Linked DNA regions of Homo sapiens: region 2 is linked to region 1. Evidence: promoter capture Hi-C in 16 types of primary human blood cells and fetal thymus (Javierre and others, 2016). All regions are on one chromosome and are shown on one strand. The core of a region is centred on a gene start or on the middle of the fragment in contact, and the rest is flanking DNA. Distances in the headings are between cores, read along the strand shown. Region 1 holds the start of RSL24D1 (ribosomal L24 domain containing 1). Region 2 holds the start of DPH6 (diphthamine biosynthesis 6).

Evidence for each region. Contacts are between HindIII fragments. The CHiCAGO score rates a contact against its expected background, and 5 or more counts as called.
Region 2: a contact is called between the fragment with the promoter of DPH6 here and the fragment with the promoter of RSL24D1 in region 1, in 4 of 17 cell types (total CD4 T cells, total B cells, non-activated CD4 T cells and 1 more). The highest score is 9.3, in total CD4 T cells.

What each region holds. Positions count from the first base shown.
Region 1 is chr15:55,194,890-55,202,513 of GRCh38, forward strand. RSL24D1 (ribosomal L24 domain containing 1) reads right to left here and starts at 2,052. Exons shown (of 6, transcript NM_016304.3): 1 at 1,921-2,052. The coding sequence starts at 2,001. RefSeq lists enhancers at 1,172-2,063, 1,857-2,016. The HindIII fragment of the contact is 1,416 bases long and covers 2,038-3,453 here.
Region 2 is chr15:35,542,260-35,549,883 of GRCh38, forward strand. DPH6 (diphthamine biosynthesis 6) reads right to left here and starts at 3,906. Exons shown (of 9, transcript NM_080650.4): 1 at 3,860-3,906; 2 at 154-248. The coding sequence starts at 3,882. DPH6-DT (DPH6 divergent transcript) reads left to right here and starts at 3,936. Exons shown (of 3, transcript NR_038251.1): 1 at 3,936-4,214. RefSeq lists enhancers at 2,907-3,841, 5,829-6,123, 5,892-6,648 and silencers at 3,889-4,028, 4,329-4,378. The HindIII fragment of the contact is 1,793 bases long and covers 2,677-4,469 here.

The DNA of each region.
Region 1 (7,624 bases), core at 802-3,301:
GTGCACACCTGTAGTCCCAGCTACTCAGCATGCTGAGGAGGGAGGACTGCTTAAGTACAGGAGACTGAGGCTGCAGAGAGCCATGATCACACATCTGCACTCCAGCCTGGGCAATAGACAGTGAGACCCTGTCTCAAAAAAAAAAAAAAAAAAAAAGGCTAGATAAGAGGCTATAAAAGTGGTAAGAGCCTAATCTGAACTAGGACAGGAAAGTAGAAAGAAGGCAAAGACACCACTATCTTTGCAGAGGCAGGATAGGTAAGACTTGATAACTAGATACAAAAGGTGAAAAGATTCAGACGACTCTCATGTTTCTAGCAAAACTATCCGGGCACTTAAGAGTGGTATTAATTCACAGAGCAAAAAGATCTGAGGTACTAAGGAATTCTCTTTCAGTAGGCCCACTGTACCTACTGTTAGGTACATCCAATGGAAAATTCAGATTTGGAGCTCAGGAGATTTAGGTTTGGAAATCAAGCATAAAAAAAGATGAGATACTTGTTCTTTGTTAGTGCTTCAGGCCCTCTATCTTTTATTTCCTCCAACAACTCTCTTCTGGATCCACTGGTGACTCCCAACCAACTCAACACTGTCCTTATTCTTCATCAACTTAACTTCCACTGTGTCTACCAAATCAATACCCAGGTCTTGACAGTTCTCACGATCTGTTGTTCTAATTCCAATATCCAGCCGACAAGCATCCTGGACGAAAATCACAAAATCGTAACGACATCATGTATAAAACCATACTGCCTACTCTGAATTAGACCCCAACCTGGCAATCTTTTGGTTCATTTTTATAAACTTCTTATCATGTTCCTGAGAGCAAGTATTCAAAATCTTCTAGGTTCTTTTACGTTATCAAACATGGCTTTGGTCCGTCACTTTCAGCTGAATCCCTTGGATCTAATTAATGAGGTCAATATCTTTGATCTGTTACAGAGATATAAGGTGAAGAAGTCAGACTTGTAATTATTTAGCACGTCAAATTCACCTTAATATACAGATTCTTAGACCCTCTTCCCCTCCCCCAAAGATTCCAACTCAATAGATCTGGTGAAAACCAGGAATCTGTAAACGCCCAGTAATTCAGAAGCAAACGTAAGAGATCAAATTCTGAGAAACAATGTGTTTCTCTGAGAAAGAGAGGAACGGGATTCATTCTGTAATGACAGGACAAATTCATGTACCATTCAAAACGTCTTTCACAACTAGGACTCATATTTATTATTTACGTTTACAGACTTATTATACTTGTAGCCCTACGCCCAAGGCTCTATCATCATTTACAATCCAGTCACTTCCTCAAACAAATGTATTTGCTCCGTTCTCTGCCTTTTCTCAAAATGTTCACTTTCCTTCCACTTAGAAGGCCCCCTCCGCTTTCTTCCGCAAAATTCAGGATCCAAGATAAATATCACCTCTATGCTGAGTCTTTCCGTACAGGACCCTCCCCAACTCACCTGCAGTAACTTAATACATAACTCTACCATTAAGCAATACGGAACACTTCCATCAACCTCTACACTTTAGTATGGACCTTAGTGTAATGCCTGACAGGGTATACACTCAACAAAGTTTACTGGATTCAAGAATTTGGCCCAAGTACATGAGTGGCCAAACAGCCCTCACAGACATCCAAGATTCCTGGTAGGCGCTAGCTGGGATCGCTCCTGAAGTTCCTCGCTGCCAACGCCACCCAAGGGTGGCGTGGTGGCCAGCGCCGCTCGGAAGACGGGCAAGGAGAAACCCCCGAAGCGGAACGTTGAGAACGGAGGCCCAGTTAAGCCACCCTCCCAGGGGAACAACGGGAGGAACCCGGGCCAAACACGGCAGACGCAGAAGCACCCAGCACCGAGCCGCCGCGCCCAGGAACCGCGGGAGCTAGGCTGAAGCAAGAACTGGTGTCGACCGCCTTACCTTGCAATCGTTGCGGACGAACATCATGCCGTGTCCAGGATAGATGGGCCCCGAACAGAAATAACACTTTTCGATACGCATGTTGAACCCGCGTGTAACCCCACCAAACAAACGCCAAGCTTGAGAGGAAGTGATGCAACCCCGTCACCGGAAGTTACCTTCTTCCCCCTTCCCCGACCGGAAAAAGGCAAGCGTCCTTCGTTCTCGCGGGTCTGTTAGACCAGATGCGAACACGACTGTGCCTCCGGCGGCCGTGTGGTCAAATGCGCTGCCGTTTGACGCAGGCGCAGAGCTGCAGACTAGACCTGTTCGCTGTTACTTTGGGGAAATGTGGTTCTGCGCCACCTTGTGAACTTGCTCTCACAGCGCCTAGTTTTTTCTCTCTGTGTGTCGGCATTTATGCAAGTATTATGTATCTTTGGTTTGTGCTTTGCCTCGGAGTGCTCTCGAGAGCACTCTCTTAACTCATTTGTCTACTGCCTGCCCTAGACCAGCCCTCGATTCTCGTCCCACAGTGATTTGCAGGGTGTAAGCGGCGAAGACCCTGCAATCCAGCGTTGCTTCGAACATTGCAATGAAAACGGTTGAGTTGCTGATGCTCCAAGGACTTTACCAGCAATTTTTTTAAATATAAAATCGTGTTATCCGCCTCCCCCCCATTTTAATTAATATGCATATGTAGTAAACAAATATTTTCGCCGGAAACTACGACTCCCTCCCTAGACCTGCGGTCTTCCTCCCCAGGGGCAAAACAGTTCCATTTATTACCTGCCAGAGCTTTTCTGTGCATAGGCAAACATGTATATTTGTGTGTTTGCCTGTCTCTACGTCCTCTTCTTTATAATACTAGTTAATATGCTATTTACTCTTTTCTGCATCTTGCTGTTACCTTGTATCCCTTCATTGGAATGTGAGCTCCATGAGGGGCAGGGATTTCAGTTCGTTTGGTTTACAACTACATCCCAGTATCTAGAACAGTCCCTGGCACATAATAGGCATTTGATACATATTTTACTGTAAAAGGGTATTTAACATTCTTTTTCATATATATATGCCATTGTATGAAAGTATTTTAATTGGTCACTAATCGATGGGCATTCTTATCTTTTGATATAATAAGTATCTGTTGGTACGCTTTTTCAGGAGAGGGTTTATGTAGAACTGCTGGATCAGAGGAGCTGGATATAGATAAATAGTTTTAAAATTTGGCAGATAATACTAAATTGCCTTCCAAAAGTTTTTACCAATTAACACTCAGCATCAACAAATAAGATGTCTGTTTCACTACCCCGCTGTGAAAAGTGATCTTTGCCAACCTGAGATGAAAATTTATCTTATTATTATTTCAACTTGAATTTAATTACAAATGATGTTAAGAATCTTTCACAATGTTTTTCAGCTTTTTTCTGTGAATTGCCTGTTCAGGTCCTACGCAGTTTTCTATTCTTTCGTTGATTTTCAACAGCACTTTACACGTTAAGGTTAGTCCTTTGCTGACATGCATTTAGAAATTATTTCCCTATCAATGTTTTAAGCTTTGCTCATGGTATTTTTCCATGCAGAAATATGTTGTTTATATATTCAGATTTATCCAATTTTTTTATGATTTTGGATTTGGTACTTTCCTTTAAACTGCACTTCTCACTCCAAAATTGTTTTTCAAAATGTTTTCTCTTATGTTTTGTAGTTTCATTTTTTTGCATTTGAATTTTCAACTCGTCTGGAATTTAAGTATAAATGACATAAGACTCCAGTGTCTTTCCCTCAGTGCTGTATGTTGATAAAGCATCCTTTCCCCCACTCACTCATAATGTCACATCTATGGCTCCATTTCTGGACTCAGTTCCATCGTTTTATTTGTTAATGTGCCACTGCCCAAATATTTAAATTATTGTCATTTTTTGAATAACTGGGTTTACCTCCTCTCCCTTTCTATTAGTTTTCATGCTGCTGATAAAGACATACCCTAGACTAGGCAATTTATACAGGAAAGAGGTTTAATGGACTCTTTATGGCTGGGGACACCTCACAATCACAGCAGAAGCCGAGGAGGAGCAAGTCAGGTCTTACATGGATGGCAGCAGGCAAAGAGAATGAAAACCAAATGAAAGGCGAAACCCCTTTAAAATAATCAGATCTCGTGAGACTTATGCACTATCATGAGAACAGTGTAGGGGAAACTGGCCCCATGATTCAATTATCTCCCACCAAGTCCCTCCCACAACACATAGGAATTATGGGAGCTATAATTCAAGATGAGATTTGGGTGGGGACACAGCCAAACCATATCACCCTTCCTTCCTTGTCCTTCTTATTCATTTTTTATCTGGCTATTCTTCAACATTTATCTTTTCATTTTAACTCTAGAATCAGTTTGTATAGTTATAATCTTCAAATACACACATTTTTCCTTTTATTGGATACTTTTTCTTGTCTAGTCATTCGACCAGTAATTCCAGAGTAATGTTAAATAACAAAGGCACATACCAGAAATTTTAGTAATAAACATCTGCCCAATACTTTATTGTCAACCAAGAGACTGAAAATTATTTTACTTTTCTTTACTCTTCCTCTCCTATCCTCCTCAACAATTATGGAAGAGCCTCACCAATCTTTGCAAACTTTACACAGTTCCTTCCCAACTCTGTTTGTTCCTACTACTTCACCAAGAAATTTTATACCCTTCCCATATACATGAACACCCAGGTTTACCCTCTTACCTTTGATGTCAGAGGCCACATCATTTATCTGTGTTCTTAATTTCATACCTTAAGGCTTCATCTGAGACTTTGTTCCCTTCAGTCCATGAACATATTCAGTGCTTCACTTTAGAATGAGTGTGTGTATAGCCAGCCTTAGAAATTGTTTTTTTCTTTCCATCTATTTTAATGGAATACAAGATTGAACTGAAATCTTGGAAATATGATTCCATTTATCCTTCTTAGGATTTATGATTCCTAAATCTAAGGGTATGTGTCTTTTATCATTACTGGAAAATTCTCAGCTATTATCTTTTCATATAGTGCCTCTTCCTTCAGTTTCTCTAATTTCTCCTCATAGAATTCCTACTAGATATAAGTTGGAGCTTTTTTTCTTCCCTCTGTGTCTTTTAACCCCTCCAGGACTTTCTCCTTATCTCTGTCTGCTGAATTATGGGTAATTTCCTCTGACCTGCCTTCTAGAATTTCCTCTTCAACTCTGTCAAACCTGTCATTTAACCTCTAACCATTAAGTTTTGAATATCAATGGCTGTATTTTTCACTGTTGGAAGTTTTTGTTTTTTTGTTTTTTTTTTAATTCAAACCAGTCTGTTATCTTTAATATTGTCTTCTTTTCTGGATTTTTTAGTTCCTTTCATGTTTGTGATTATCTTAAACACTTTGACTTTATGGTCTGCTTCTGATAAGTATATTATTTGAGGTTCTTAAATGCCAAATCCTGCTGGCTGTTTGGTCTGCTGGCCCTTGCTAATGACTGGAGGTAAGAATGAAGAAGAAATAGATTGTAATTTTTCATTGTAATCTCATCCATAGTAGGGTGTTTTTTGGCCTGTGCAGAAATTCCATCTGTAAACATTTTTGCTTTGCTTCCACCAAGTAATCCAGAACAAATCCCTTCTTTAAAATGTTAATTTTTGTTAATTTCTTGATTGAACATACCCAGAAAAATTAGGTATTATACACTTTAACCTTAAACCTGTGTTCAAGCCGACTTGTAGTTGTAAATTTTCACAAGAGATTAAAGGCATAGACTAGGTTGGCCAGGCACGGTGGCTCACGCCTGTAATCCCAGCACTTTGGGAGGCCAAGGTGGGTGGATCACAAGGTCAGGAGTTCAAGAGCAGCCTGGACAAGATGGTGAAACCCCATCTCTATTAGAAATACAAAAATTAGCCGAGTGTGGTGGTGGGTGCCTGTAATCCCATCTACTCGGGAGGCTGAGGCAGAGAATTGCTTGAACCCGGGAGGCAGAGGTTGCAGTGAGCCAAGATCGCACCACTGCACTCCAGCCTGGGCGACAGAGCAAGACTCCATCTCAAAAAGAAGAATAAGAAAAAAAAAAAAACCATAGAGCAGGTCCTGGATTTCTGTGTGTTTGGGGACAGAGGGCTGCAGTTTCATCACCCTATTCTCAACAGGCCCAAGGTTTTCTTTACTAATTCTTTGTAGCCATTATAACAAAGCATCCTGATTACCGATACTGGCAAAACCAAACCAAAAGCAAACCACAATCAGCATCAGGTTGTTTTAAGTTCCATCTGTTGTCTGTTTTTAAGGGGAAGGAGGTGGTCTTAGGGCATTGCCCATATTTTTTTGAGAAATCATCGGTACATTTTTAAAAAATATGTTCATACTTTATCCAGCATTATCTAAGTATCTTATAATGGAAGAGCTTATTAGTTTTATAAATACCTATATTACCAATAACAGAAGAGCTGGAAATACCACCATAGAGATTTCCAATTTATAAAAATACCAAGTGAAACATGTCTTAAATAGATTGTTAGCCATCTTGACATCAACTTCAAAAGATCAGAAATTATCTCTCAGATTTCTTAATTTTTTTTTTTTTTTGAGATGAAGTCTTGCTTCGTCACCCAGGCTGGAGTTCAGTGGCGTGATCTCGGCTCATTGCAACCTCTGCCTCCCGGGTTCAAGCGATTCTCCTGCCTCAGCCTCCCCAGTAGCTGGGATTACAGGAATGAACCACCACGCCCAGCTAATTTTGCATTTTTAGTAGAGACTGGGTTTTACCATGTTGGCCAGGCTGGTCTCCAACTCCTGATCTCAGGTGATCTACCCACTTCAGCTCCCAAAGTGCTGGGATTACAAGCATGAGCCACCACACCTGGCCTAGATTTCTTGATTTCTTGCAATGAATTAGTATGGACTTACTATATGTGAACCTTTTTAAACATTTTTAACGCTGTTTTTATTTTCAAATTGCGTTTTTCTGTCTTTTAACATTAACAGTGGCCTCTTTTGAAAACTCTCTTGACCCTGCTGCCTCTTTAAGTCCTTTACTCAGTCAATTAACAAAAATTTGAGTACCTATTGTGTACCAGGCCTTTTTCTGAGTGACGGTAACAGTTTTGAAGAAAACTACCTAAATCCCTGTCCTTGTTTGTGGAGCTTGTATCTTAGTGGATGTAGACAAATATATAAATATGTCAAGTGAATCACTTGTCAGCCTCTTGGCTAAGAATAATTGTAAATACATCAGGTGGTGAAATATTTACATTGAGTGATATGAAGAAACGCAAAGCAGAACAACAGGTCAAGGAGTGACAATCTGGTTGGGGCCATGAATGGGAGTGACTGCTCTTTTATATAAGGTGGTCAGTAAAGTTCTTTGGACAAAGTGGCATTTGAACAGTCTTAAAGGATAGGAGAGGTATACATGGAACACTAGCATTCCAGACAGAGGGAACTGCAAATGCAAGAGATCTGAGGCAGGAACATGCTTGACTGCTCCAAGGAGGCCAGTGTGCCTGAGAAGAGTGAGTTGGACAGTGGTAAGAAATAAGGTCAGAAGGTCAGAGAAGCCATCTCTCCACATATACCCTCCTCATCCAGTCCATGACTGTACCCTCCCCAGTGTCTCTTGCATCATCTCTCAGCCCTGCATGATCTTAGTTCAGGCCTCAATCATCCTTGTTTTGTTTATCTGAGATTGTCTACTACAACACTTCCCAAATATAGGT
Region 2 (7,624 bases), core at 2,656-5,155, about 20 Mb before region 1:
ATGCTAAGTTCTAGGTGGAAACTAGCATCTAATGGGTGCTTAATATTTATTGGTTCTTTTTTTTTCATCTTTGTACGGTATACCTGTACAATGTAATTATGAAGTTGGAATTTCATTCATTTAGGCAACTTCCCAATAAAGGCATGTACTTACCTTGGTTTTCAGCTGGTCTTAGATTTGCTAAAGCAACGATCTGATGCCCAGCAGCAATGCACTGCATCATATTATAGCAGCTGTCCTTCCCACCACTAAACAATAAATCAAGAGAGGGACAAATATCATGCTACTGACCATTATTCAACATAAAATCACTAGATATCAAAACAGAACATATCATTTACTTGACTCTTCAGAATATATTACAATGCAAAAAAAACCCATTAATTTCTAAATCATAAACAAACTGAGCAACCGAATCTGAATGTCTAGGGCTGCTACTCACAGGAGCTTAAGAAACTATATATATATAAGAATATTCTAAACAAAATATGGTAACTTTTTGCTTTGTGATAGCAAATATATTTGAAGTGATTTGCAAATAGAAAATGATTTCAATTTACATCCCAGCTAAACATTTATTATATAATTATATATGAAATATATATATTCTACCTAAGGAATATATATAATAATATATATTATTCCACTTAAGGAATATATATAATATATATTATTCCACTTAAGGAATATATATATATATATATATAAAATAATTTCATAGAAATTATTGGGAAAAAAAAAACTATTCTCTATGAGAAAGTAAAAAAAAAAACAAATTCTGCTCCACCATAAGAAATCTAACAAATGGCTACCATCAGCAATTAAAGGATCAAATTAAAGATTTGAGTACCTAGCTAATGACAAAGTTTGACACACTTGGTGGGTTCAAATTCTGCAGAGATAAAAAACAAGATGCTGACTTACACTGATGACGTGAAACATCAGCACTATCAGCACTTCAGCCATCTCTACACATACATATAGTACACACATACACATAATATATATATATATATATATATATATATATATATATATATATATGATGGCAGCAGAACTAGGCTTGAGCTATAAATGTAGTAACACATTGAAAGGAACTTCTAAATTCTGGTTCTAAATCTACCTAAGGCAGACGCATATCACTTAGTAAAGACAAGCAGTAGCTCATCTATAATATGGCTGAATGGCAATCTATATGCTATTGTAATTTAATATTCTCCTAATTCCCACTATCATTTATCATTGCCTCTCTCCCTTTTACATTTCTTTTTCCTCCTGTTTCCCTTCTTTCCAATATTTGCTTAAGGCCTGCAAATCCCCAGGCAATGTTTAGACCTCTTCATAGCTCAAGAAACTGAGCACCTCAGAAACTGGCCTTGTTGCCTTTTATCTTAGTTTTCAACATTTCTGCCTCTTCCACCCTCCCATCAATAACAACTCTCATTCCAAAACTTCTCAAGTGGAAGGAGAGCACAAGGGCCAAAGTGAAGTTTTAAAAAGTCCATTCTTCCTCTCTTCAGGTTCGGTATCCCCATAAGTAGGTCTTCCACAACTTCCCATATCGAACCTTACTGCTCTGATTCCCCAGGATAAAAAGATATGACTAATTGTTTCAGATATTAAAGACTGAAGGGTGTGCATCCAGAATCAGAACTGAGTCTGACAATTTATTTTGAAATATGCCAACATTTCAAATATGGTTTTAAGCAGTATTTACCAAACTGTGTTCTGTGGAACACTGGTGTCCAACAAAATACTAACCAATTACTCTAACAAAAGGTTTTGAATATCAGACAAGCTTGGGAAATGCAGAGTACCTTACTGTCCTCTTAGAACTCCATTAAGTACACATGTATGTTAGGTGAGAGGTCTCACAGCTCTATTTTAGTTTCCAACTCTGGGATACTAAGCTAAGTTATTCAATGTGCTTAGGTTTGCATACTTCATTGCAAATTAATGAATGGTCTGCCTGGATAATCCTCAAAATAACATTCAACTATAAAATTCAAAGACTCATTTATTTATTAGAAAAATAATGTTCTATGAGAGCATATGGACACAGGGAGGGGCACATCACACACTGGGGCCTGTGGGGGTTTGGGGGTTAGGGGAGGGATAACATTAGGAGAAATACCTAATGTAGGTGATGGGTTGATGGGTGCAGCAAACCACCGTGGCACATGTATACCTATGTAAAAAAACTGCACGTTCTGCACATGTAACCCAGAACTTAAAGTATAATAAAAAAAAAATTTAAAAAAGGAAAATAATCTTCTTAGAAAGATATGTAAGAATCCCAGTTTCACTTATTCACTTATAATACATAATTATATATAATGCATATATATAGAATACATAGGCATCTGTATCATAAGCATACAGGTAAATGCTTACGTATTCATACTTACAGCATATGTCCTTACAGCTCTTACGCTTCAGCAAGAATTTTCCAACATTGCTTTTTTAGCAAACTTTTTTTATTATAAAGCAACATATGCACATTACAGGTTATTTAGTGTAACTGACTCTACCAATCTTCTCTCCTCCCCTCCAATACTTCTAAGTCTTTGTTTGTTGTGCTTTACTTTAATCGTTAAACTTTTGGCAAGCGATGTAAATTTGAATTATTCACTTCCTGGGGTACTTTTAATTCTTAAAATAAGACACAATGGTTAAAGCTTAATCATTTATGTTACAGAGGACATTTACTGAACAACAATAATTATTGTGACATTATGGTCTAGTCTCCTAAAAATGACATTGAAGGAAAGGGAACCGGAATATTCCAGACACTACAGTAGGTCTGAAATCTCATATCAAGTCCTTAATAGGTCAAAACTTACAGCCAGTATCAATTACCTAAGGGACTTAACGAAAACGTTTATGAAATCTTCAATTGGATTACAAAAGCAAGCACATCGTTGCACTGTATCTAAGACACTCTACAGGGCAAAATCTCATGAAACAAGTATTTAAGTAGTCTAACTTTTTAATGTTGCTAGTGTGTTCCCTTCTGCCTCAGTTTATAGATTGAGTATGGAAATATTTAAGCAGGTTTGTTTTTGGTTTGTCAGTCACAGGACTTATTTAGACACTTAAATTTATGATTTGGTTACTACAGACATCAAACTCCTTTTGGAATACGGAGTATAGGGTAAGGTCACTCTAAAGCAATGATGAGAGTCCGAAGCAACAGCAACTGGATCTAGCATAAGACTAGTACAATTCGGTCTCTACCACGAAGAGAGATCTCTGTACTTGAGTGCCCAAAGGCAGAAACACACACATGCCATAAGCAATCCACATCTGTGAAGATGAGGGAGGGGTGGACTTCTTGGGATGGGCGGAAACACTTACAACTAGGGAGGAAGCCAGGCTGCGGCGGACCCAGCTGACCAAAGGAACTACAGAAGAGGACGAAGAAAGCGAGGGGGAAAGGGCGAGGGTTATTAACTGAGTTGATGGAATAAGGTAGTGGCTCCAAACTTCACGGCTCATTAGAGCTTGAAAAAAAAAAATCAGACGCCGGGTCGCACAGAAGTAATTAAACCAATCCCTCTGGCGGTGGGGCCCAGGCGTCGGTACTTTTTTTAATTTCCCACTTGAATCCAATGGGAATCCAAGTTTAAGGGCTAGAAGACCAGAGAGCGACAGACAGGGAGGAGGCGCGCCAGCCAGGGGCCGAGGCACATGCGGGCCGGCAACAGCGAAGGCTCCGCCTCTTCCTGTGGCTCGGAGGAGCCGCGGAACCCCCAACGCGCGACTCAGACGGAGACACCCACTCTTTCGGCGCTAGCGGCGGCTGGAAGGGACGAGAGCCTGGCCTAGGAGGAAGGAGGCGGCTCCAGGACCGCATTACCTGATCAGAGCCGCGACCCTCATGCTGGGCGCAGTGCGCGTGCGTGCGGCGAGCGCGGGCGGGAGCCAGGAGGTCGCGCCGCAGCTCGCGTGACGCACCGCGGGGCCTCGCCCGGGTGTTCGCTCCGCCGCCTGTCCGCGGATCGGCGCTGCGAGCCCCGCGGCTGCCTGCGGGACACCTGAGCGCGGAGGGTGCGGCACCTTGGCACCTTGACCCTGTGGCAGGGACATCTCGGCCCAGGAAAGAATGAGGTTTAGGCACGGCCTAACCACCTAAGTGAGGGCACTGAAGCTGCCGGGGGAAGGGCAAGGTCCGCGTTGCAGAGCCCAAGCCCAGTGGCGCAGGATTTGTTTTGGTAAGAGGGGATTTAGCGTCCCAATTGCTGCAAATTGACACAGTTGCGGACGTGCAAGCGCAGAAGAAATTTGTCCTTCCTCACCCCACAGAACAGAAACAACTGTACACTTCTGCTTTTTAACTTACATCTCCTCTGTCCTCCAAACCTGTGTGTCCAGATGTGAAACTCAGATCCCCAGGGGCTGTGGTAATTTTTAAATCTGGGGCTAGCCCCCCCCACCTCTAGGCCCTCTGTGGCTTTGGCTCTTGGTCAAGCTTGTGTATTTGACAAGGCCAGGCCAGGCTCTTCACCAAAGAGCAATGGCCTTGCAGAAAGAAAATCTAGCTTCTAAGTTTATTTGCCAAGTATGTATTGAGTGCCTTTCGTGTACCAGGCACTGTTTTAGACTCTGTGGATACAACCGTAAATAAAACAAAAACCCGGCATTCCGGGCATAGAGCTTAAATGGGGATGGAGAGAACAGACAATACATATCTTAAAGGTAAATAGTCTGTTGAAGAGTGAAAAGTGCTATTGGAAAGGGGCGGGGTGCGGTGGGGGAGAGTCAGGAGAGAGGTGGAGAGGCAAATTGCAGAATTAAATCGTGTCTATGTAGGCCTTATTGGTAAGATGAGAGTTGAGCCAATTTAAATAAGGAGAGTTCGCTATGTGTATGATTGGGGTGTGCTCCAGACAAGAAAAAAAAATCGAAGGCTCTAGGTGCGTTGTGTGTTTGTGGAAGATTAAGGCAGATCCGTGTTGCTGGAGCAGATTGAGCAAAGCAGAGAGTAGTGGAGAGCAGGTTAAGGTGATGGAGGGGAAGGATTATATAGGGTCTTGTAGGTAATTGCAGACTTTTGAAGGGTGTGACTTAAAATTTTAAAAGGATTGCAGTGTTGAGAATCCACCTATTAGGAAGCTGTTACAGTGTTCCAGTAGAGAGATGGCGGAGCCTAGAATCAACATGGTGAATTTGGTGAGAAGTAAGAGGATTCCAGCTCTATTTTGAAGATAGAGCCAATAGAATCAAATTCGATATGGGATACAAGAGAAAGAAAGTCATGAGGGATGATGCCAAAGGCATGAATTAAGTAAGTTAATATATGTAGGGAACTTAAAATTATGCCAGGTACATAGTAAGCATTCAATTTTATTTTGACATTCTCAACTCTAATAGTAGGGGTGACTAGAGCAGTGACAGTCTACATATCAGTTTTAGCGTCTAGAATCATACAGCTTTAAGATTTTGCAGTTATGAATATTTACCAAATGAGTCAAGTATTTAAGAAGTTTGCAGTCTAATTGGAGGAGATAAATACGTGAAACACACTTAAAATGATACAGCTCCAATGAGTGGAAGAAGCACCAGGGCTCTCGTCTCATGCCGAATTGGGTAAAATGACACAGACACACATGGAGTGGTTTTAAGGGGTGGAGAATTTAATAGGCAAGAAAGAAGGGTGAAGAAAGGAAGAAGCTCCCCTGTAGAGACACATGGAAGTGGGCTCCAAAGCCTAGAGAGGAAACCCCCAGTGCTGGGGTTAACAGGCAGTTATATGAGGAGACTGGAAGAGGCGGTGTCAGATTTGCATAGGGCTCAGGGGATTGGTTTGACCAGGCATGTCATTCACATAGCCCACGAAAAACCTGGCTCTCCCACCCTAGCCTTTTAATATGCAAATGCAGGTCGCCTTGATGTTCTACACGTGTGGCGATATGTGGGGATGGCCATGTTGCCAGACACATACAGGGGCAAGGGCAAGAGGACAGCGGTGGCTATCGCCATGTTTGTGTGGACCCAGTTTCTAATGGCCTGCATTTGCATATCAAAGGTCGCCAGCCGGGCTCTAAGAGCAGGGGCTTTCCTGCTAGACAAGAAACATTTCTGGAGCTGCTTTAAAAGAGACAAAAACTTTCCAAGGACCCCTTTTCCTATCTGCCTAAAATTATTTTTTTAATAAATCCTATAACAGTAATCCAAGATAACACATTTTGAAAGTAACAAGTTATGTAATGTGTATGGCAAGAGTCCCATGAGTCAAACTCACAGGGTAATGGCTGGAATGAGGATGGGACTTGAAAGATGAGTAGAATTGAACAGGAATGGGCGGAACTTCCAAACAAAGCAAGGCAAGAATGAGCGTGGTGTGTTGAACAACAGGGGGTAGACTAGCTTGACTAATTTGGAAGGTATATGGGAAAGAAGAAAAAATAAGTTGAATAAATAGGATGAGGCCAGTTTATCCAGGGTCATGGAAAACCAAAATGAGGAATTTCAAAATAAGGCAGGTTACTGTGGCTACTTGACATCATTTTTCAGGAGATTGTGTGAAATAGCAGTAATGAACATGATGAATGATTTTGATAAAATAGGCACTCCCAAAGATGCCAATGGATTATCTTTTCCACCAAGGGATATCTTTTCCTTGCCACTTCCCAGGAGGGATAAAGAGAGAAGATTCTAAGGCTACCTTCCTAAAACTACATCTTTAGGATTATTTTTTTGTTTCTCTTTGCGCTCTGTAGGCTTCATTTTAAGACATCCTCAACAAACAGGTTTATTACAGTGTGTATATCCTGGCATTAAACTGTATGTTAGGAAATATGTTGAGGCCGTTCTCCAAGGTCACCCAGTTTTTAGCTTGATGGTGTTGCTTTCCCCACTCGATTCTTTCTAGCACCTGTGGTATCTCTCCTCCAGGTCCTTTTGACCCCTTGAACAAAATTTCTCTCAGCACCTATTCCCTCCTTTTAAAACTTTCTACCAGAATTATTTAAATTAATGAATGTTTCTGGTTGCCTAATGTAACACTGCAACGTGTATTTTCTTAAAAATTTTTATATTTCCTCACATTAGTGCCTTTCTCTCAGCATTACCACACAAGGCTCTGTGCTTGAATGTCCTATCAAGGCCACCATAAAAATGGTAGGTTCAATTCATTTTGGTTCAATAGACATATTGGTATTTCCGAAATTAATATATGTCAGATTGGTCTTGACCCAGCCATCAAAGTTATTCTTAGAGTCATACATATTTTTGAAGTTCTTTTTTTTTATAGCTAACTGAACAAAACCAGATTAATTATTGACCCCTGAAAAACTTGTTAAAAACTAGAGATTAGGCCATGCTCTAACTTTTCCCATTGAGAATCTTTCTTAATTCATTGTAGTCACCTTTGTGGGTGTCATTTTCTTTTGCCGAAATTTAAAAGCAACACCCAGTTTGTCAATTACAGGTTTCTGAGAAGCAGATGCCAAGACGGGATTACATGTGCAGGAGATAAGAGAAAATGCCTGTGAAGGACAAAGGGAGACCAGCAAGAGAAGGCAGGGAGACTCCGATTGGAATGCAGGGGAGTCGAAATCTGAAAAAGCAGAATGGGAAGGAAGAATAGGTTGAAAGAACCTGTTTGTAATGTCATTCTGAG